3 separate regions of the Homo sapiens genome follow, and all the other regions are linked to region 3. Evidence: promoter capture Hi-C in 16 types of primary human blood cells and fetal thymus (Javierre and others, 2016). All regions are on one chromosome and are shown on one strand. Each heading gives the region's core, a stretch centred on a gene start or on the middle of the fragment in contact. The rest is flanking DNA. Distances are from core to core; before and after follow the strand shown. Region 1 overlaps SLC4A5 (solute carrier family 4 member 5). Region 2 overlaps M1AP (meiosis 1 associated protein). Region 3 holds the start of C2orf81 (chromosome 2 open reading frame 81).

Region 1 (3,406 bases), core at 527-3,026, 180 kb before region 3:
ATAATAATTAAACATCTCCTTCCATTAGCTTTGGCTAATATCTCTCATTCTCCATCTTGCAAGGTGAGGACCACTGCCTCTATCCTCCTACCACCTCTCTCCTCCTCCCCTCTTCCTTCCTGTCACACCTCCACTTTGACCTTTCCATTGTCGAAGCTGAGAACAATCATTTCTTGTTCCGTAAACACATGGCTTGTGTGTTTTATCTGTAAGTCAATTCCAAAAGTTGAAAATTAGTAACAGCTTTATATTATCATGATCATATAAATATTAGTCACAGCAGAACCAAGTAGTGTGCTGGGTTTATACTTCCTTTTCTATAATATTCCTAGCATATACATCAAAACCATATGAATGCTTATTAAGTTAAACCACATGAACTTGACTTTTTTTGTAGGTTGAAACAGTCAAATATGGGCAACTTCATATGGTCCAACCTAATCAGAGAGTGTCAGTTGCTCTCCAAATTGGATGTATCTGTCTACATTCCCACCTACTGCTTTCCATCTCCAACATCTGGTGTCCCAAGACCTTCATCTGTCTACCAATCTGATGAGTATAAAATGGTGTGGCCTCATTCCTCTCTGCAACCGGAAATTCCAGAAGGCAACTGAGCAATTTTTTTTTTTTTTTTTGAGACAGAGTCTCTCTCTGTCGCCCAGGCTGGAGTGCAGTGGCGCAATCTTTGCTCACGGCAAGCTCTGCCTCCCGGGTTCATGCCATTCTCCTGCCTCAGCCTCCCAAGTAGCTGGGACTACAGGCGCCCACCACAACGCCCGGCCAATTTTTTGTATTTTTAGTAGAGACGGGGATTCACCATGTTAGCCAGGATGGTCTCGATCTCCTGCCTTCGTGATCCGCCTGCCTGGGCCTCCCAAAGTGCTGGGATTACAGGCGTGAGCCACTGTGCCTGGCCCAACTGAGCAATTTTTAAGTAATGTGACGGAAAAAATGTTGTTGGCACAAGAATTTCATGCCACATGAATTACTTTTCATCCTGTAGGCAACAGATAGATACTCTCAGATACAGTGACTGCTTGAGAATTTTTACATAAGAGGAGATTGAGGGATGTGCTCTGGACTGGAAGTGGGCAGGAAGGAAGAGAACTTGTCTTGATGGTGCATTTGTGTTGTAAGCAAACTATTTTTTTACTCAGTTTATATACTGTGAAGCTTCCTAAAGCACCTTTTATTTAGTCTTTAGAAAATCTGGGAAAAATTCAACTATTTATTTCAAAGATTTTATCATTATGATTAGTAGCAGTAGCAGCTGTAATACTTAGTTAAGATGGCTTTAGGAGACTGCTAATGGAGTTTACGGTGGGAAAGAGTTGCTTAAATTCTTCCGAGTACCCCCCACCCCACGGCACAGTTACTGCTTATGTATGCAAGTGCTGTTTTCATAAATCTTTTATTCCAGCCACAAACAGGTAGAAAATAAAATTTAAAACAGCAGTTAGGGCTGGGTGCGGTGGCTCACACCTGTAATCCCAGCACTTTGGGAGGCTGAGGTGGGGGGATCACCTGAGGTAAGGAGTTCAAGACCAGCCTGGCCAGCATGGTGAAACCCCGTCTCAACTAAAATTACAAAAATTAGCCGGGTGTGGTGGCAGGCGCCTGTAGTCCCAGCTATTTGGGAGGCTGAGGCAGGAGAATCACTTGAACCCGGGAGGCGGAGGTTGCAGTGAGCCGAGATCATGCCATTTCACTCCCACCTGGGTGACAGAGTGAGACTCTGTCTCAAAAATAATAATAATAATAAAATAATAATAACATAGCAGTTAGCATTTACGACGGTATAAAAAAATCAAGTACCTAGGAATAACTCTAACAAAAAATGTTCAAGACTTAAAGATCAAAATGTATAAAACATTATGGAGAGAAAGAAGACCAAAATAAATGAAGTATACTGTATTCATAAATCAGAAAAACTCAAAATTTGAAAGACGTTAATTCTTCCCAAACAGAGGCAAAGATAATCCCATCAAAATTCCAACAAGTTTTCATTTTGGTGAAATTTAAGATGATTCTAAAATTCATGTGGAAATGCAAAGGGCCAAGAAAATATTATATAAAAAGGACAAAAGGGGAGAGCTTGGGAGACAAAGATATAAAGACTTATAAGCTACAGAAATGAAGACTGTGATACTGATATATAAATAAACTAGTGAAACAGAATAAAGAACCCAGAAACAGACCCTGTCATATAGGAATATTTGATATATGGCAAAGGAAGTATTGCAAAGCAATGGAGAAAGAATAGTCTTTAAAAAATACTGGAACAATTGACTATATAAAATCACAAAGAAACACTGTCTCACAGTACACATCAGAATCAATTCTGATGGATTGTAGATCTAACATGAAAGGAAAAACAATGAAGCTTTTAGAAGGTAACATACAAGAATATCTGCTGTCCAATATTTGCCTTGAGGAAAGTTTGATATATTCAATTACAATAAAACTAAGAATTTCTGTTAATCAAAAGATGCCATTAAGGATGTAAAAAGAAAAAAACAGTCACAGAGTGGGAGAAGATTTTGCAACACATATAATCACAAAAACATTTCTACCCAGAATATATAACAAACTCTTGCAAATCAGAAAGGCAGACAACCCAAAATGTGCAAGAGATTTCAACAGACACTTCCAAAAAGAAAGGCAATTGGGCATGTGGCCAATAAACACAGGAATAGCTGTATTTTCAACTTCATTAGTCATCAGGGAAATGAAAAATTTAAAAAACACAATGAGATACTACTATAGACAAAGACTAAAGATAAAAGCCTGACAATACCAAGTGTTGTCAAGGGGACCAGCCAACAAGGGAACACAGTTCTCTCTGACTTAACTTGAAAAACCCCAGTGGGCCAGTGCTCGCATGGAGTCCATCCTGTCGGTGGACCAGAACCCTCTCTGGGGGACTCAGCAGCTGTCTGACTGCAGGTCCCCTCCTAACTGCAGGGTGAGCTTACCTTGGTAGGAAAATAGCGGCTGAATTTGAACTTCTTCAGGGTCAGGGTCATGGAGTATGTCCCAAAGAAAAGGATGAAGGACATGAGCGCCAGGTCTGGGATAAACTTGCAGGAATTCCCAAGCAGGCGCCCGCCGTAGCTCAGACACTCCTTCTTGCTCAGCAGGGACCAGTCCAACGCTGTGAGGTTAAGGAGGTTGTACTTGGAGACCAAGCACAGGAGAGAATGGGTCAGCATCTTCCTGATGAGTCAGCTGTGTCCTTCCCACTGCAGTCCCCAGGCAGCCAGCATACCTTCCCACCCTCTGAGGGACCCCAGCCCCCCAGAGTGATGTTCCTGGGGACGGGCTGGTTCAAGGAATGACAAGCTCCCTAGGAAGATTAGGAGCTCACATGTGTTTCTTCATTGTGTTCTAGGATGCACTGCTGTGC
Region 2 (2,957 bases), core at 359-2,858, 170 kb after region 3:
ATTACTTTTTCCTGTAACTCTTGAGCTTCATCTAAGTTAGTCTCCTTGCCACATGACTTCCTTCCTTCCTTAGTGCTTTCATTAATGTTAGCCCATGGCCTGCACCTCTTCCAGAATTCAACTCAGGACTGACTTTGTCCAAGAAGTTATGCTTAACTATATCCTCCCTTATCTAGCTTTAATTGCCATCCCTGGGTATCTGTGGGCTTCATTTGGGCAATATTAATCGCACTGCTGATTTATTTTTTTTTAAAGGATTTTCTTCTCTTTTCCTGAGTTTATGAAAGGCTTAATGGAAAGACCAGGGTTTGACTTGAGAATTAAAAGTTGTTAGCAGCCGGGCACGGTGGCTCACGCCTGTAATCCCAGCACTTTGGGAGGCTGAGGCGGGCAGATCACCTAAAGTCGGGAGTTTGAGACCAGCCTGACCAACATGGAGAAACCCGGTCTCCACTAAAAATACAAAAAATTAGCCAGGTGTGGTGGTGCATGCCTGTAATCCCAGCTACTTGGGAGGCTGAGGCAGGAGAATCGCTTGAACCTGGGAGGTGGAGGTTGCAGTGAACTGAGATCGCGCCATTGCACACTAGCCTGGGCAACAAGAGCGAAACTCCATTTCAAAAAAAAAAAAAAAATTTGTTAGCTATGTGATTTTGGGCGAAGTGGAATAGTACAACATATTTCTTAGTAAAGCACTACAAAGCGAGATGATTATCTATAAATGGCATCCAGTAGGTCCAACAAATATAATTTTCTTCCTTTTCTCTCATCCACAAAATGAACTCTTTTAGGATAATAATATATTTTCCTTTTTTTTTTTTCTTTTTTCTTTTGAGACGGAGTCTCGCTCTGTCCCCCAGGCTGGAGTGCAGTGGCGCGATCTCGGCTCACTGCAAGCTCCACCTCCCGGGTTCACGCCATTCTCCTGCCTCAGCCTCCCGAGTAGCTGGGACTACAGGCGCCTGCTGCCATGCTTTGCTAATTTTTTGTATTTTTAGTAGAGATGGGGCTTCACCGTGTTAGCCAGGATGGTCTCGATCTCCTGACCTCGTGATCCACCTGCCTTGGCCTCCCAGAGTGCTGGGATTACAGGTGTGAGCTACCACGCCTGGCCATATGTTTTCCTTTTTTAAAGCTTTTTTTCCCTTGGTCACTGCTTTCTACCCCCGACTACCATACATTGAACACCAACAACTAGTATGTATTGTGTTCTTCACAAATACGACTAAATGTGCTAAATCTGGGGATCGGGGAGGAGACTTCTCAGACGTTGAAAAACAGCTCCCTCACTGGCTGGGGAGCAGGGTACCCATGCACTAGATGAACGGGTCACACCAATGGCATGAAATGGAAAGGTTACAGGAGTGAAACGGTGGCCCTTAGTGTTTGGATAGTTAAAGCAGTGAGGAAGGCCTGGTTCACTGCAGCCCAAGCTGCAGCCAGCATTCACATTGTTTTTGAACTTACCCTGCCCTCCTGCGGCCACAATGGGAAAAAACTAAGAAAGCCAAATGACTGAAGATTAGGTAATACCTGAAGTAGACCCTCTCAGAAGAAACCTTAAAATAGGGTTATAAAATTAAAGTGTGTTTAAAATAGGAGACTTTAACATACATACGTGCATATACAATGTCTGTATTTCTCTCTTCACATAAAATATAGAGGCCCAGGAAAGTAGAGGCCCAGGAAAAGGTGCTCTTGCCCAGTCCTCCACATCTTCCCCCGTCTCACAGGGCCCTAACCTCTAGGCCTGACCTGTTCCTTTCCGAATGACATTCATGAGGCCTGTACTTGGGTGTCATGGATGGGCTTCAGACATTCTGAGAACCCCTTGAAATTATATACAATTCATCTGTACATGCATAGATGTATTTTGGTGGGGTGGGGGAAGGGGGAAAGCCCCTAGCTTTTATCAGATTCTCAAAAGAGCTCTATGACCCCAAAAAGGTCAAGAACCACTACAGAGACTATAGAGTCACAGTATCTTAGCCTGCCTGGGTTGGTTTACAATTAGCTGTCTACTCTCTGAATACAGGATAGCTATAGGATGTTAACAACCAGGGTAAGTAATCACAGCAGATAAAGCTTAGTCAGGAACAGCAGTGCAGCATCATCCAACCATTGTCTTTAAATCAACACAACATGAGAATAATCTAACAGCTTACAACGGTGAGGCAGTCAAGCTTGTCTTTCTAAGCTCATTTGCCTCATTTGTGGAAGTGATGCTTGGACCCTAGGAAAAAGGAGAAGCCCCTTGAAAAGAGTTGGCAGGGGTGGTGGTAGTGGTTATCAACATGTGAACTCAGGGCAGAGAGGTGACTGCAGGAATGGACCTAGTGGTGACTATCTTCCTGGAGCCCCAGTCTGTAAGAGGGTCAAAACATCACCATAACTGTAATGAGATAGAGAAAATTTATATCCCAGAACTCTTCTCAGAGAGAGAGAACTGTTGTCATTCATTCATTTGCTTAGTCATTCATTTATTTAGTCATTCAAGCACTTATTAGTTTACTGTCTTTTATGAGCTAGGCACTTATTGGTGTCATCAAGAAAAGAGACAAATTGCCTACTTTCGTGGCTTACATTCTAGTGAGAGAACAGATAATAAGCAAGCAAATAAAACAGAATACAATTTCAGATGATAGATACTATGAAGAAAAATAAAGGGGCGTGTGTGTGTGCACGCGCGCGCGTGCATGCATGTGAAGTTTTAGCTTGGCTGGCCAGGGAAGTATTCTTTAAGAAGCTGACAGTTGGGCAGAAACTTGAATGACGTGAAGTGAGTCATAAAAACATTTGTGCGAAGATTGTTTCTTATAGAGAGATGAGCAAGTTCAAAGGTCTTGAGATGGGAATGAGCTTTTTGTGTTGGGGGATTAGCCAGAAGACTAAAGCAGAATAAGGAAGGAAGTGAGGACTAGCTAATAAGCTGCTGGGGTGAAGGACAAGACCCCCAA
Region 3 (3,280 bases), core at 650-3,149:
ATGCTATATATACTGAAATATTATGCAATGATTAAAGGTAATCTTTTTTTGTTTGTTTGTTTTTGTTTTTGAGACGGAATCTCGCTCTGTCACCCAGGCTGGAGTGCAGTGGCAAGATCTCGGCTCACTGCAACCTCTGCCTCCCAGGTTCAAGCAATTCTCCTGCCTCAGCCTCCGGAGTAGCTGGGATTACAGGCGCCTGCCACCAGGCCTGGCTAATTTTTTTTCTATTTTTAGTAGAGATGGGGTTTCGCCATGTTGGCCAGACTGGTCTTGAACTGGCCTCAAGTGATCTGCCCACCTTGCAGGCATGAGCCACCAACCCAGCCATTAAAGGTAATCTTTAGAAAGAATTTGCAATGGCATAAAGCAAATGTTTATGATGTAACGTTAATTGAAAGAAGCAGGATACAAACTTACACATCAATTATGATCTCATATATGTAAACCACTATGTGTTCAACAAAAGGAAAACTTCAAAATGATAACAGAGGATACGTTTCCTTCCTATGCTCTTTTCTATTTTGTAAGTTCTCTACAATGAGTTTGTTTCCTTTTGTAATCACTTAAAAAAAAAAAAAGACTAGTCCCCAAAACTCACTTTAGAGACATAAAAAGTTTACAAACAATCTCTTGGGAGCTCCCTCAATTCCCCACAACAGTCTCCCTGAACCTGGTTCCTTCCAAAATGTACTTCCAAATGTGATCTTCCCAAACCTTTGCCTATTGCCCCGCTAAAACCTTGTCTCATATCTGTTTCCTAAAATTCATTATCCCCCCAAATCTGCTGTTTCCTAAGTCTTGCAGAACTCAAAATCCCTGAAGTCTCATTAACCCTATCCACCAGTGAGAACAGCCCTGTAGCAAGCACCAGGAGTGGCCCATAGCCCAGGCCAAGCTTGACTAGAGCAGGGCTGACTGGACTGAGTAAAGAGAGTTGTTTCCTTAGACCTCCCCTCCCAGCCTCGCATCTGACACCCGTGATGGTGACCAGAAGGGACAGAGATATTTTTGCACAAAGGCTCTTCAAATCCGTTTTCTTTCTTCTTCTTCTTTTTTTTTTTTTTTTTTTTTTTTTTTTGAGACAGTCTCTCTCTGTCACCCAGGCTAGAGCGCAGTGGCGCGATCTCGGCTCACTGCAACCTCCGCCTCCCGAGTTCAAGCAATTCTCCTGCCTCTGCCTCCCGAGTAGCTGGGATTACAGGCACCGCGCCACCACATCCAGCTAATTTTTTGTATTTTAGTCGAGACGGGGTCTCGCCATGTTGGCCTGGCTGGTCTTGAACTCCTGAGCTCAGGCAATCCTCCCGCCTCAGCCTCTCAAAGTGCTGGGATTACAGGCATGAGCCATTGAGACCGGCCCCGTTTTCTTTATTTTAAAATTGATTGGCTCTTAAACAATTTGACTTTCAAGTGCAGTCTCTGAATTATTTAATATATTTCTTCCTCTTGAAATTCTCGAAATAGATTTTTTCTGTTATCTTCCCTCTCTAAATGCTCATCCATTTAAATACGCACCACCATGTAAGAGACTTACTACATTCATTAGCTGTTTCAAAATCCACTTCCTGTTCTCGGGCTCTACACCACCCACTGACCCTTTCCCTCATGGCTTGAGTGTAACAAAGCGTTTGAGTGGGCACCGTGCAGGTGTAGGTTTTCTGCCCGAGTACCGACGTGGCTTCCTTGGTCATCTAAACTCCCGCGCGGTGGGCGGGAGCAAGTAGGGGCACTGGGCGGCCCAGAGCCAGCCCACTGTTCCCGACACCGACCTTAACGGCCGACCCTGGCTCTGGCGCATCCCCAGCTGAACTGAAGCTCACCGAGCCTTCGTGCGCCATCGCCAACGCGGTCGCAGCAACGCTGGTGTTTCTGCTGCATCCGGGCCGCGTAAGCCACCTAACAGTCGCCTGGGCAACCACGGGCTCGGGGTCGCTCGCCCCGCCCACAGTTGCCCCGGCAACCGCGCCGCCCGCGGCACGTTCCGGCCGCTCACCCCGCCCAAGGGCCGTGCGTACGTGCGTCGTCTCTATGGTGGCGGCGGATTTGGAGGGACCCTACGAACCAGGAGTCAGGCGAGCCGATCTGGGGCTGCAGGTGTTACCTCTGATCTAGGCCGGGGGCTTCAGGGATCCGAGCCGAGGGAGAAAGCCTTGGGGGCTTCATCACACTTATTTGGCTCGCGGGCTTGGGGCCATCGGGTGGTCCTGTGTCATCCCCATTCCTCCTCTGCGATTCCCCCGTCGCCCCAAAACAGCCCTGGGACTCCCCTGTCTTGCTCCTCGAGACCCTCCCCCATCACCGTCCTCTGGGCACCCCATCCTATGACCCAGTCTCAGGCATCTTCCGAAATGCTCGATGATAGCCGCCCTCGGGCATCTCCGCTGCGTCTGTTTGTAGCGCGCCTGGTGATTCGGCTGCACCCCCACACAGGATGTTCCGCTGGGAGCGCTCCATTCCCCTGCGAGGCTCGGCCGCCGCCCTGTGCAACAACCTCAGTGTGCTGCAGCTGCCGGCTCGCAACCTCACGTATTTTGGCGTGGTTCATGGACCAAGCGCCCAGCTTCTCAGCGCTGCTCCTGAGGGTGTGCCCTTGGCCCAGCGCCAGCTCCACGCTAAGGAGGGTGCTGGAGTGAGTCCCCCACTTATCACTCAGGTGAGGCATGGAGCTGGGAGTGATGTTGCTGAACCCAGTCCTACCCCCAGCCTTTTCTCTCCAAACCTTCAGGAGCAGGCATGTCCTAACCTCAGAATCTCCCCAGGCATGTCCTAACCTCAGAATCTCCCCTCTCCTGCCGGGCGCGGTGGCTCACGCCTGTAATCCCAACACTTTGGGAGGCTGAGACGGGCACTTGAGGCCAGGAGTTCGAGACCAGCCTGGCCAACATGGTGAAACCTCTTCTCTACTAAGAATACAAAAAAAATTAACCGGGTGTGGTGGCGTGCACCTGTAATCCCAGCTACTTGGGTGGCTGAGGCAGGAGAATCGCTTGAACCCAGGAGGCTGAGGTTGCAGTGAGCCGAGATGGCGCCACTGCACTCCAGCCTGGGCCACAGAGCAAGACTCCGTCCCCCAAAAAAAAAAAAAAAACAAACAAACTCATCTTCCCTGCTTTGATTTTCTCCCTACACTGATGCACCTCCCTCCAGGTCCACTGGTGTGTCCTCCCCTTCCGAGTGCTGCTGGTACTCACCTCACATCGAGGAATACAGGTAAGAAGAGGACTCTCCTGCTTGCCCCACCAGAGCCTTCTCAGCTTCCCTGCCAGGCTTCCAGACT

Evidence for each region. The method cuts DNA at HindIII sites, captures the fragments that hold promoters and counts their contacts. A CHiCAGO score of 5 or more calls a contact.
Region 1: a contact is called between a fragment that was not itself captured here and the fragment with the promoter of C2orf81 in region 3, in 4 of 17 cell types (naive CD4 T cells, erythroblasts, activated CD4 T cells and 1 more). The highest score is 6.8, in naive CD4 T cells.
Region 2: a fragment that was not itself captured here is called in contact with the fragment with the promoter of C2orf81 in region 3 in 7 of 17 cell types (total B cells, naive B cells, naive CD4 T cells and 4 more); the score reaches 7.9 in total B cells.

Annotation. Positions count from the first base shown.
Region 1 is chr2:74,236,360-74,239,765 of GRCh38, forward strand. It overlaps SLC4A5 (solute carrier family 4 member 5), which reads right to left. Exons shown (of 31, transcript NM_133478.3): 21 at 2,976-3,176. Among named protein-coding and RNA genes, the nearest start is that of MTHFD2, 39 kb to the left of the region's middle. The HindIII fragment of the contact is 1,210 bases long and covers 1,172-2,381 here.
Region 2 is chr2:74,586,384-74,589,340 of GRCh38, forward strand. All of the region lies in intron 4 of M1AP (meiosis 1 associated protein), which reads right to left. Among named protein-coding and RNA genes, the nearest start is that of DOK1, 33 kb to the left of the region's middle. The HindIII fragment of the contact is 950 bases long and covers 1,134-2,083 here.
Region 3 is chr2:74,419,720-74,422,999 of GRCh38, forward strand. C2orf81 (chromosome 2 open reading frame 81) reads right to left here and starts at 1,900. Exons shown (of 3, transcript NM_001316764.3): 1 at 1,824-1,900. The coding sequence starts at 1,841. WDR54 (WD repeat domain 54) reads left to right here and starts at 2,011. Exons shown (of 10, transcript NM_032118.4): 1 at 2,011-2,097; 2 at 2,434-2,656; 3 at 3,151-3,213. The coding sequence starts at 2,435. RefSeq lists a silencer at 1,831-2,110 and an enhancer at 2,511-2,690. The HindIII fragment of the contact is 12,224 bases long and covers 897-3,280 here.